Regions from separate parts of the Homo sapiens genome. Here region 2 is linked to region 1. The links are contacts of gene promoters, found by promoter capture Hi-C in blood cells and fetal thymus (Javierre and others, 2016). All regions are on one chromosome and are shown on one strand. The core of a region is centred on a gene start or on the middle of the fragment in contact, and the rest is flanking DNA. Distances in the headings are between cores, read along the strand shown.

Evidence for each region. The method cuts DNA at HindIII sites, captures the fragments that hold promoters and counts their contacts. A CHiCAGO score of 5 or more calls a contact.
Region 2: a contact is called between a fragment that was not itself captured here and the fragment with the promoter of PRKCH-AS2 in region 1, in 1 of 17 cell types (neutrophils). The highest score is 5.2, in neutrophils.

Annotation. Positions count from the first base shown.
Region 1 is chr14:61,542,422-61,547,923 of GRCh38, forward strand. PRKCH-AS2 (PRKCH antisense RNA 2) reads right to left here and starts at 3,063. Exons shown (of 3, transcript NR_188139.1): 1 at 2,673-3,063; 2 at 202-296. It overlaps PRKCH (protein kinase C eta), which reads left to right. Exons shown (of 14, transcript NM_006255.5): 13 at 5,322-5,465. The HindIII fragment of the contact is 1,799 bases long and covers 1,592-3,390 here.
Region 2 is chr14:63,537,212-63,542,713 of GRCh38, forward strand. PPP2R5E (protein phosphatase 2 regulatory subunit B'epsilon) reads right to left here. Exons shown (of 14, transcript NM_006246.5): 2 at 2,318-2,481. The coding sequence starts at 2,474. Among named protein-coding and RNA genes, the nearest start is that of PPP2R5E, 3.4 kb to the right of the region's middle. The HindIII fragment of the contact is 3,873 bases long and covers 410-4,282 here.

The sequences.
Region 1 (5,502 bases), core at 1,813-4,312:
TCCCAGCTACTCAGGAGGCTGAGGCAGGAGGATCACTTGAGCTTAAGAGTTTGAGACCAGCCTGAACAACATAGGAAGATCTTATCTCAGAAATTAAAAAAAAGCAAGAAAAAGGAACATTATTTTCCAAAGACCATTCCTCCCACTGCACTACTGGAGCCTAGGACAGTGAAGGCAGAAAGAGATCTTGTTCTCTCTTACCTGGCTGTAGAGGAACAGGGAGAGCCAGATGAGCCTCAGGGTCAAGGCTGACCTCAGAGTGTAGTCTCTCAGCAGCTTTCTATCTGTGCCCCTGCCTTTTAGTAGAACAGGATGGACTTACAAGTTTGGCATTTGGGTCCCATTAGGGACATAAGCAAATAATGGAAGTATTCTGCAAAAGAATTATGCTGCCACTGTTCACAGCGGTGGGAACAGAGTGTTTAGGGACAGTCTATTCGAGCCTAGGACGGCAACAAGATGTTCACTAATACTATCATTTCTTGAGGGCTTTCTTTATGCCAGGCGCTTTACGTTAATTCTCTCATTGACTCATCATAACTTTTTAAAATATAGGAAAATCTTCATGTTAGAGTTGAGAAATCTAAGGCTCAGAGAAGTTAAGAAATTTGTCCACAGTCACACAGTAACTCAGTGGTGAAAGAATGATACAAACACAAGCAGTGACACTGCAGAGCCTGACCAGCCCTCCATGTCAGAGAAGCTGTTAGTTCTTTCAGCCTTCCCTGGCTTGCAGGAGGCCTCCCAGGACATTCCTATACAAACTTGGCCCAAATCCTTTACATGTCCCCTTAGAACTAGCGTCAGGAGGGAGCATGCCTGCTTGCTTTCCCCTGCAGCCACACCTCCTCTGTAGTCTGGGAAAAAAACTGTTAAGTGTCTCATTCTCGGGGCCAGGTGTGCCTCTGATTCCTTGAGTATCCTCTAGTTCAGTTCCACTGTAATGAGGGCCACAGCAGGAAGGGGAACATAAAATGAGTCCCTGAGTTCTTGACCCTTCTCTTTCCCCTGCTCTCCAGTCAGTTTGAGACTTACACTTGGGGTAGAATCCAGATTTTCCACCCTGGTCCCCTCACTCACTCTGTGCAGCTTATAAAGTGCTTTTCTTGGCCCTAGAAAACATTCTGCTTCCTTTAGTAAATGTGTGCAGAATATTTCATGAAGTCACATTATTTTCCTCTTTGGCCGACTTTCCCTCTTGGATCACAGTCAGGGAGAAAGTCAGCTGAGGTGAGGCAACTTTTCAGTGTGACCTTAAATGTGGATGAAAGTGATGGCCCCGAGGAGCACAATTGTTAACTTACTGGCATTTGGGTCCCATTAGGGACATAAGCAAATAATGAAAGTTTTCTGCAAAAGGATTATGCTGTCACCATTCACAGCAGTAGGAACAGAGAGTTTAGGGAAAGGCCTGTGCCCAGCCTAGGATGGCAAGCTATCCACCTCCAACTCCACACCATCTGCACCAACGTGAACTGTGAAAGATTTCAGGCCTGGGACTAATGTTAAATGTTCCCTTAACTCCTCATCTCCACATCACTGGACGGGGGTAGTGGTAGAAGGGCCACCCCACCACCACCACAACACACAAAGCTTCTACCCCCTTAGTATCACCCCGGACCCTCCTTCTCCCGGTCCTGGTTTCTGTTTCATGGTATTCATCCTCCTCTGGCCTCTTCATGGCATCCTCCAGCTGCCACTCTGGCTGCTTCTCACCCTACACCAGGGGTCAGGAGCCATGAAAGTCCGTGAGTGATACCAGCCAGGTGGGAGGTGATAGGGAGTGGTGGGGCATGTGACTGACTGGGCATCTGGTGCCCCATGAAAAGCAGAAGCCCCTGCTCAACTCCAGGCCGTTTCTATGAGAGGAGTGCAGGCCCAGTGTTCCCGAGTATCTCATTTTCCACGAGAAGTTGGAAAACCTGACTTTTCATGTGATGTGACATTTCCTAGCGTTTAAATATTTGAGAAGTAATTAAAATTATTTCAAAACACACTAGGTAGGCCAAATAAAATGTGTCTGAGACCTAGGGCTGGTATCAGTTCTAGTCTGTCTCTGTCACTTTCCACAATCTAACCTGCCCTCCCAGCTTCAGTGGTTACTCAAATTTCAATGTCTCTGAGCGTTAGATGGCCAGCCCTGGCCTGCACCCCAGATTTACCCTAGAATTCATCTGCATGTGGGTGCCCACACACCTCCAATGCAAAGCGGAGCCCATCAGCCTCCCAGATTTGGCAGACTGTAGGATCTCAGTAAGTGTGAGCTATTTTTGTCTTTGTTCCACTAACAAAAATACTACTACTACTAACACTGCTACTAATACTCATGCTACAAAGAATAATCTCTTGCCCCTCTTTTGTTCCATTTCTGTTACTCAACACCACTGCCCCATCAGGCAGCCAGGGAGGACCCTGTGATCTTGGACTCTTCACTCCCATTCCCGGCAGTTAGTGGATTGTGTTTATTCTTCCACGGCCCTCTAGAATGTGCTTCCAACTCTTCCTTCCAATTAACTAGAAACTCTCCTAGTTGCTGAACTTGTCATGTGTTCTCAGCTATTGTCTCAGCCTCTAACTGCTCACCACCAGGCGCTACCTCTGCATTTAAGATTTATTCATCACGCTGTGGCTAGTGTCATCCCCTAAATTGCCGTGCAGCTCTCATCACTCACCTCGGATGGATCCCACCGGCTGCCCCCGCAGTTCCTCAGCCATCCCTGCATGCCAGCTGTACCAGGCACTTGTATGCCTCTGCATTTGTGCTGGCTGTGTCCTCAGGCGCATTTTCTTCCTTCATGCCTACTATGTTAATTCTGTTCGTCCTCATCTCTGGTCAAATGCCACCTCTTCCACGAGGCTGTCACTTGCCTTCCCACCACCAGCCCCAGTGTTATTTGCCCCGTGCCTCTTCCAAGCTCTCACAGCACTTGATCTAAGTCTCTTTTCATTTCATCCGGCTGTGTATTATGAAGTTTGCTTGATTCTTCCCCCTTCTCTTGATTAGCTCCTGGATGAAGAGACACTGTCTTTGTCATCTGCGTATCCCCAAGAAACCCCTAGTGTGCTGCCTTACATGTAGTAGACACCTTGAAAACCTTTGTCAATTGAATCAAAGTTTGTTTGTGTGTGTGTGTGTTTTGTTTTTTCTTTTGGTTTGTTTTTTTTGTAAGTTGAGGATGGCTGCATCTAAAGGGCTCAGGCCAAGGTATTAAAAACAAAACTGCTTGGTTATTCAAAAGGATTTATCAGAACCCCAAGAGGCTAAGTATCAAGCTAGTGAAAGGGTTATTCTGCCTGTCCCCAATTCCAAGGGTGCAGTTTTTAGAGGACGGACGGTCGTGTTTGGTCTACTTGTCGTCAGGCAAGGCCTCTTCCACAGTGCCCCATGGAAGCTTGGGTTCAGTGCCAGGGGCAGGGAGGAATGGGCAAGCCTCTTGGACACTGGGGCTTCAGCCACCCTGGCATATAGAGTCCTGCACTGTTTGTCTTGCCCAGAAGAACAGGCTGTACCCACCCATTCACAAGATGTCCTCTCTCACATCATTGGCAGGCCTGGGAATTTCCCACAGGCCATCTGGGTGTGTTCTGCCGTCCTGTCTCCCAAGTTTTTTGCAGCATTGTTTCTTGTTAATTAGCTCTTAGAATAGCAACTGCTCTTCCATCAGGAATTGTATCCCGTTGACTTTCCTAAGGCAAGAATCTACTCATTTCTTTTTTGTAAGCATTTTCTCCCTTCCTGCCTGCATTGCACAGGCTTACTTAGTGAGAGCCCAAGCAGTGTGAACTAACTCCTAGCTCTTACAGAACTGAGTTACTTATAATATGCATCTCCTGAATCCTGGGTGACCACTGTAAGTGCCTGAAGTGGCAGCTGCTCTGACTGGGCCTGTGCAGCTCTGAATGCTGCATTTACTTTTGGGTCCTGCCTCCAACCCAGAACCACCTGTGGCCTTTAATTCCTGTTACTAGGAGAGAGGAGAAGCGATTAAACCCTGTCAGTATATTCATTTATTAGCTGCCCTTTGAAGCTTTTTTGAAAGCATTTTACAAGGTATATCCCGTCAGGTTGCTTAGGAACTTTTGCAGCCTCCTTCTTCAACATTATCATTTTCATTTGAATCAACACTGGCAGCTTGACACCTCTGGACACCTGGCATGGCAGTGGGAGGTACCTCCAAACACTGTCTTTCCGTGTCTGCACCTTCAACAAGATTTTCTCTGTAAATTCAGCTCCAAAACAATTTTTATAAACACAGCATTACTTTTGTGTTGTTCACAAATCAGATTTGGAAAGAGGTGCTTGGGGACTGTCATGAGTCTATTTAAAGATAACCTGATTTAAATAAAAACAAAAACAAAACTTTTTATCCAAGGCAATTTTCTTTCAATATGGGAAATTAAATTAGCTTCAGTGTCTTTGAAATTGAGAACCACACTCCGGCCATGAAAAGTGAATTATCCTGTACTAATCCTTGCTCAGGAAGTGATCAAAACACCTTTCCTGGCTATTTTGTGAAAGCAGATTTAGCCCAGCATATTTTGATAGGAGCCCAGCACTAAGGAAGTTTCCCAACTGATGGAAATACAGAGAATCTCTATGCACACATCGCTTAGCTGTGTGGCAGCGCTCGTTTTAGTTTTTGGTCTATGGAGCAATGGAATCTCAGTCATTGAACCTACTTCGAAACAGCAGTGGTGGGGGGAACATCTTGAAGAAAAGCCTTTCATCTAGAGCTATGATATCTTCGCTGCATAAAGAAAAGTGGCCAACTTTGTTTTTTCTAGAGCCAGGACACAGACCTTTTCAGTATGTCACCTTTGCTGCTTCTTCACACAGATCTTCAAAAATAACGACTCTCTCTCCTCTCTGTGGTCTCGTCAGAGAGCAGGAATCCTGGCCAGCTGGTCAGGTCACTCAGAAAAATGGCACAGCTGTTTCTGAAAGTAGCCCCATTCATAAGATGTCTGCTGCCCACAACTGCAGTGTTGGGGAAAGGCACACTGTTATAAAGAGCTTCTTTTCTTTAAAGAGGAAAGAAAAATACATGGTGTTTACAGAAAAGAAAACTGGACCCTCCTGCTTTCTTTTAGTGGCCATGTCTGAAATGGAAGTGGGAAAAGCCATAAATCCACACAGGCAATCGCGCCTTTAAGGCATGATTCATACTGACTGTGCTGCCTGTGATGGAAAACCCAGCTAGTTAAGCAAGACCTGCCAGAAAGTCTCGCACAGCTCCTCTGCCATGGCTGATGCCTGCTGTCTTGTGACGTGCTGGTTGTATGTGAATGAATGATTGACACTTTCTCTCTCTCTCACTCAGTTCATGACCAAGAACCCCACCATGCGCTTGGGCAGCCTGACTCAGGGAGGCGAGCACGCCATCTTGAGACATCCTTTTTTTAAGGAAATCGACTGGGCCCAGCTGAACCATCGCCAAATAGAACCGCCTTTCAGACCCAGAATCGTAAGTGTCCCAGGCTGTCACAGAGACATTCCTTTCT
Region 2 (5,502 bases), core at 1,096-3,595, 2.0 Mb after region 1:
AAGTTTTTAAATTCCTTCTAATTCTAAAAAAAAAAATTTAACTGGCTTCCTCAGAATGAAGTCCTTTACAGATACAGAAGTTAACACCCATTACATATCTACTTCAGATTAAATAGATTACTAAAAACCAGTGTCTCCCAACTTTGTATTTCAAGCATAGTTCAATCTACAGTGTTTCCTACATTTTCTTTCCAAAGCCTCATAATGACTATTTTCATTTTTACCAGCAAAATCTCTAGTCAAAATTTTCTCCCCCAAAGCTCACAGGAGCTCATCTTTACTGACTGGTAGATATATCATCTTTACAGTAATCAGTATTCAGTTTCCAAAAATTTTGTATAAACATTGGAATCTTATTTATGAATCTCTCTCTCTTTTTTAAAAAAAGTATTCATATGGAAAAAATAGAAGCTTGAAATATCCTAAGCTAAATTTTGAGGATCTTTTCCGGTTACATTCCAGTTTTTCTTATAATACCTTCTGATTTCACAAACTGTTACAGAAATAAGTCTGCAATAATGAACTAGCAAACCAGGTTGCCTGGTTTCCTCCAAGCCACACTAAAGCTCATTGTGTTGTTCATATCCCCTTTCTCCCATTCTTCAGTATTCAGCACATAAACATCCACCTCAAAGGTAAATTCTGATAGTTTCCACACTATAAAAGCTATGTTCTGATATTTTTCAAACAACACCTGTTCATAAACATGAAGCAAACATGATGAAAATTAAAAGGGACAAAAAGTAACCACATACCCAAACAAAAGTTGAAATGCCTAATTTAGAAAAAATTCTTCATATTAAAAACGTGTTGGGCCGGGCATGGTGGCTCACGCCTAAATCCTGGCATGGGAACACCATGGCAATTCGAGACCAGCCTGTGCAACATGGCAAAACTCCATCTCTACAAAAAAATGGAAAAATTAGCTGGGCGTGATGGCATGCTTCTGTAGTCCCAGCTACTCGGGAAGTTGATCCCGGCTACTCGGGAAAGGGAGGATCACTTGAGCCTAGGAAATAGAGGCCACAGTGAGCCCCAACCTGCACTTTCTTTTTTTTTTTTCCCCCGAGACAGAGTCTTGCTCTGTCACCCAGGCTAGAATGCAATGGCACGATCTGGGCTCACTTCAACCTCTGCCTCCCGGTTCAAGCAATTCTCCTGCCTCGGCTTCCCGAGTAGCTGGGATTACAGGTGCCACCACCGCGCCTAATTTTTGTATTTTTAGAAGAGACAGGGTTTCACCATGTTGGCCAGGCTGGTCTCAAACTCCTGACCTCGTGATCTGCCTGCCTCGGGCTCCCAAAGTGCTGGGATTACAGGCGTGAGCCACCACGCCCGGCCTCAACCTGCACTTTCACTCTGTCCCCACTGAACTCTAGCCAGAGTGACAGCATGAGATTGTCTCAAAAGAAAATTTAAAAAACCAAAAAACTTGTTTTTAACAAATTTCAGGCCAGGCACGGTGGCTCACACCTGTAATCCCAGCACTTTGGGAGGTCAAGGTGGGCAGATCACTTGGGGTCAGGAGTTCAAGACCAGCCTGACCAACATGGTGAAACCCTGTCTCTATTAAAAATACAAAAATTAGCTGGGCATGGTGGCGGGCACCTGTGCTCCCAGCTACTCGGGAAGCTGAGGCAGGAAAATCACTTGAACCCAGGAGGTGGAGGTTGCTGTGAACCAGCCTGAGCAACAGAGGGAGACTCTATCTCAAAAGATAAAAATTAAAATTAAAAAATTAACAAATTTCAAAGAAAAGATCATACTAAACAAGTATGATCATCATACTTGTACATAGAAAGGTATATCTTTTCTACTTGTACTATGTGAAAACAAGAGTGCATGTAAACAACTATAAATGGACCATTTTTTTCTTGATTTTTAAAAACGAATTCTTCCAAATACCATTTTCTATATGTAAATTAATGAATGGTACCATCTCCTCTACTAGGGTCTACTTCCTAAGACCATAATCTGTAGTTGTCATTGTATATAATGTATCCCTAAACGTCAACAGAAGAAAAAATGAAAAACACAAACCCAGACATCTTAAAGTTTCTCTAGTACTTAGTTTACCTACTCATCAATGTGAGATATTCTCCTGATAATGTTTCTTTTAACTTGCCCAAAGACAGACTAAATTGAGCCTTTAAAAAGGAGAGTGGGTATATTTGGTCACACATTAGTAACTTCAATGTATGTGAAGTATCCCATCCCTTCAATTTGCAACACATATAAAACTCTACAAAAAGGAAATTATATATAGATGTAGAAAGATCAATTGAAAAAGAATGCATCACCTGGTCATGAGCCTTACCTTTTAGCAGCGGCAGAGGTGTTAACTCAATAGGCTTGCCTTGAGACCTAAACTGTGAGGAACTTTGCGACCTCTTCTGTCTGGCTTTTCTGACGGACTTCCGAGAAAATCCGTCTACTTTATCCACTGATGGAGGAGTAGTTGGTGCTGAGGACATATCCCTACTGAAGAGAAAGAAGTATCATAAACCCATACATTCCCAAGGTGGAAGCATACATGTGAGTTATACAAATTCTAAAATTCCCATATACAATATTCATGAAAATGGGAATATGTGCTAAAGAAAATAAAATCAGTTAAGAAAAGTCTTATCTTGGCCAGGTGCAATGGCTCACGCCTGTAATCCCAGCACTTTGGGAGGCTGAGATGGGTGGATCACTTGAGGTCAGGAGTTCAAGACCAACCTGGACAACATGGTGAAATTCAGTCTCTACAAAATTACAAAAATTAGCCGGGCATGATGGCAGGTGCTTGTAATCTCAGCTACCCGGGAGGCTGAGGTGAAAGAATCGCTTGAACCTGGGAGGTGGAGGTTGCAGTGGGCCAGGATCCCGCCATTGCACTCCATCCAGCCTGAGTGACAGAGTGAGATTCCGTCCTTTAAAAAAAAAAAAAAAAAGGGCTGGGCCCGGTGGCTCACACCTGTAATCCCAGCACTTTGGGAGGCCGAGGTGGGTGGATCACTTGAGGTCAGGAGTTCGAGACTAGCCTGGCCAACATGGTGAAACCCTGTGTCTACTAAAAATACAAAAATTAGCCAGGCGCAGTGGCATGCACCTGTAATCTCAGCTACTCAAGAGGCTGAGAAGGGAGAACCGCTTGAACCTGGGAGGCGGAGGTTGCGGTGAGCCAAGATGGCACCACTGCACTCCAGCCTGGGCAACAGAGCAAGAGTCCATCTCAAAAAAAAAAAAAAAAAAAGCCAGGCACAGTGGCACACACCCGTAATCCCAAGGCGGGCAGATAACTTCAGGTTGGGAGTTCGAGACCAGCCTGACCAACATGGAGAAACCCCATCTCTAATAAAAAAAAAAAAATACAAAAATTAGCCAGGCATGGTGGCGCATGCCTGTAATCCCAGCTACTCGGGAGGCTGAGGCAGGAGAATCACTTGAACCCGGGAGGCGGAGTTGTGGTGAGCCAAGATCATGCCATTGCACTCCAGCCTGGGCAGCAAGAGGAAAACTCCTTCTCAAAAAAAAAAAAAAGAAACAAACAAAGAAAAGAAAAGTCATATGTTAACAGGAAAACATGAAAATTTAGTGAAAATAATTTAAGTATCACGGAAACAATATGAGAACTCTAATGTATTGTGCCACTCCATTATAAGCATTAAAGATACTCATCTAGGCTTAAAGAAATCTATGCTGCCTGCCCATTTTCTAACTGCAAAGCTCTTCACATCTTCAAGTAATTTTTGGAGCTATTCTGTAACTGGAAAACTTCCATTGATACATTTTCCCAAGATACTTAATATTATGAATGGGTTCTGGAGTTGAAAAACCCTTAGTGTACTTCAAGAATCTATACCAATGTATCACAGCAAGGTGAAATTTACTACTACTGAAACTATCTAGGCATAACTTTTAATGGGATGTGCTATGTTAGCTATGATAAACTATACCACACTGCAAATGAGGACAGGCTAGATTACTTTAAACAAAACACATAAAAGGCATAATTAAAATATTTCAAATAAGTCTTCTTTTTGAATGAAGCCACCTTACGTTATTAACGCTTAATAAAAACTATGAGAAAATCAAGCACCAAAGTTGAACTGAAAACATAAATTCACAGCCTACTGAAACAACCAAGTTGAGTTCCCTTGAGGTTTAGACCTTGAAGTTCATCATCAAATACCAATTTTCATTCCATCAAACTTACGGAACTGAATAGCACTTTTGAATTGTTTAACCCTCTCGAGTTATTAAAATGAAGGCTATTTCCTGAAAGTAACAAGCGTTAAGCTTAATTTCATTCACCAAATTAAACAGATGCCATCATTTCCATGGCACTGAGGCTTCATGCAAGACTAATGGCAGACTCGGATAGAAAGAATGCATATGGGGGAAATGCTGAAATGCAATTACTCACCTGTCATTCCAATAGACAAGACAAGTGGTTTTTAACTTCTAAATAAAACAGTAAGGGAATTTCTTCCTGAACACGTGAGAATAAAAAGTTACCTGGATTACGTGGATTTTGACAATGTAAAAATAACAAAAACATTTTAAAACACATGCACACATATGATGTTGACGTTTGGAATTTGGAAGTCTTCTTTGGTTTTCTTTAAAAAAAAAAAAGTTTTTAAAAATCTACCTAATTTAGCCTTAATATAATGTGATGGATTCAAAATAGAATCACAAACTATGAATGACTATAGATGTTAAGATCACTTTAAAATATCAAAATGACTGCATCAGCCAAAAGCTCCACATCTTATTTGTACGTTGTAAATTTAGGGGCCGATTTTCCATTCGGGTATGTGAATTATTTAGACTTCACTCTAACTCTAACACTACAACATTTCAGTAAATCCTCTTCCTCCATCACTCTTTTCGTCTCTTCTTTATTCCTTATCTCTCATCTCTACAGACGATATATAGGTAGCTTTTAAAAAAATCATTTACCCCTTATGCCCGAGGCCCAGAATAAACGTCAAGGATCGCAACCCTGAAGCACTGCAAAACTGAACGTAAGGTAACAGCGGGTCCGTGCAAAGCCCAGGGAAACAGGTTTCGCCCTGGGCCAGGGCTCCCGAAGCTTTATCATCCTCTAATCAGCAGGCATGGGGCATTTCCATGGCTCAGGATAATCCAAAGGGGGTAAGGGGAAGTAGGGAAAGACAGGGAAGGGGTTTGTCTGTGGGGATGCTTACATACTCCCTTTGCTCCTAACCCACACCCCAAGCCCTGGAGACGATAAGCTGCTAGAGAATCCTCCTCACACCAAACCCCTCTTTATTCCCCGCCCCCGCCAGTGGATAAAGGGGGGCAAGAAAACGCCTCCAATCCCAGAAGGTGGAGAAAAAGGGGGGAGGGGGCAGAGTGAATGAGAGGTATCATCAGAAGCATTTGTAGGTAAATCAGACAAGTGGGACGGGCGCTCCCGCTCCCGCACCCCACCCCACCGCACCCCTCGCCTGCCCGGCCAGGCCTTCCCAAGGCCGGTGCCCCATAGGT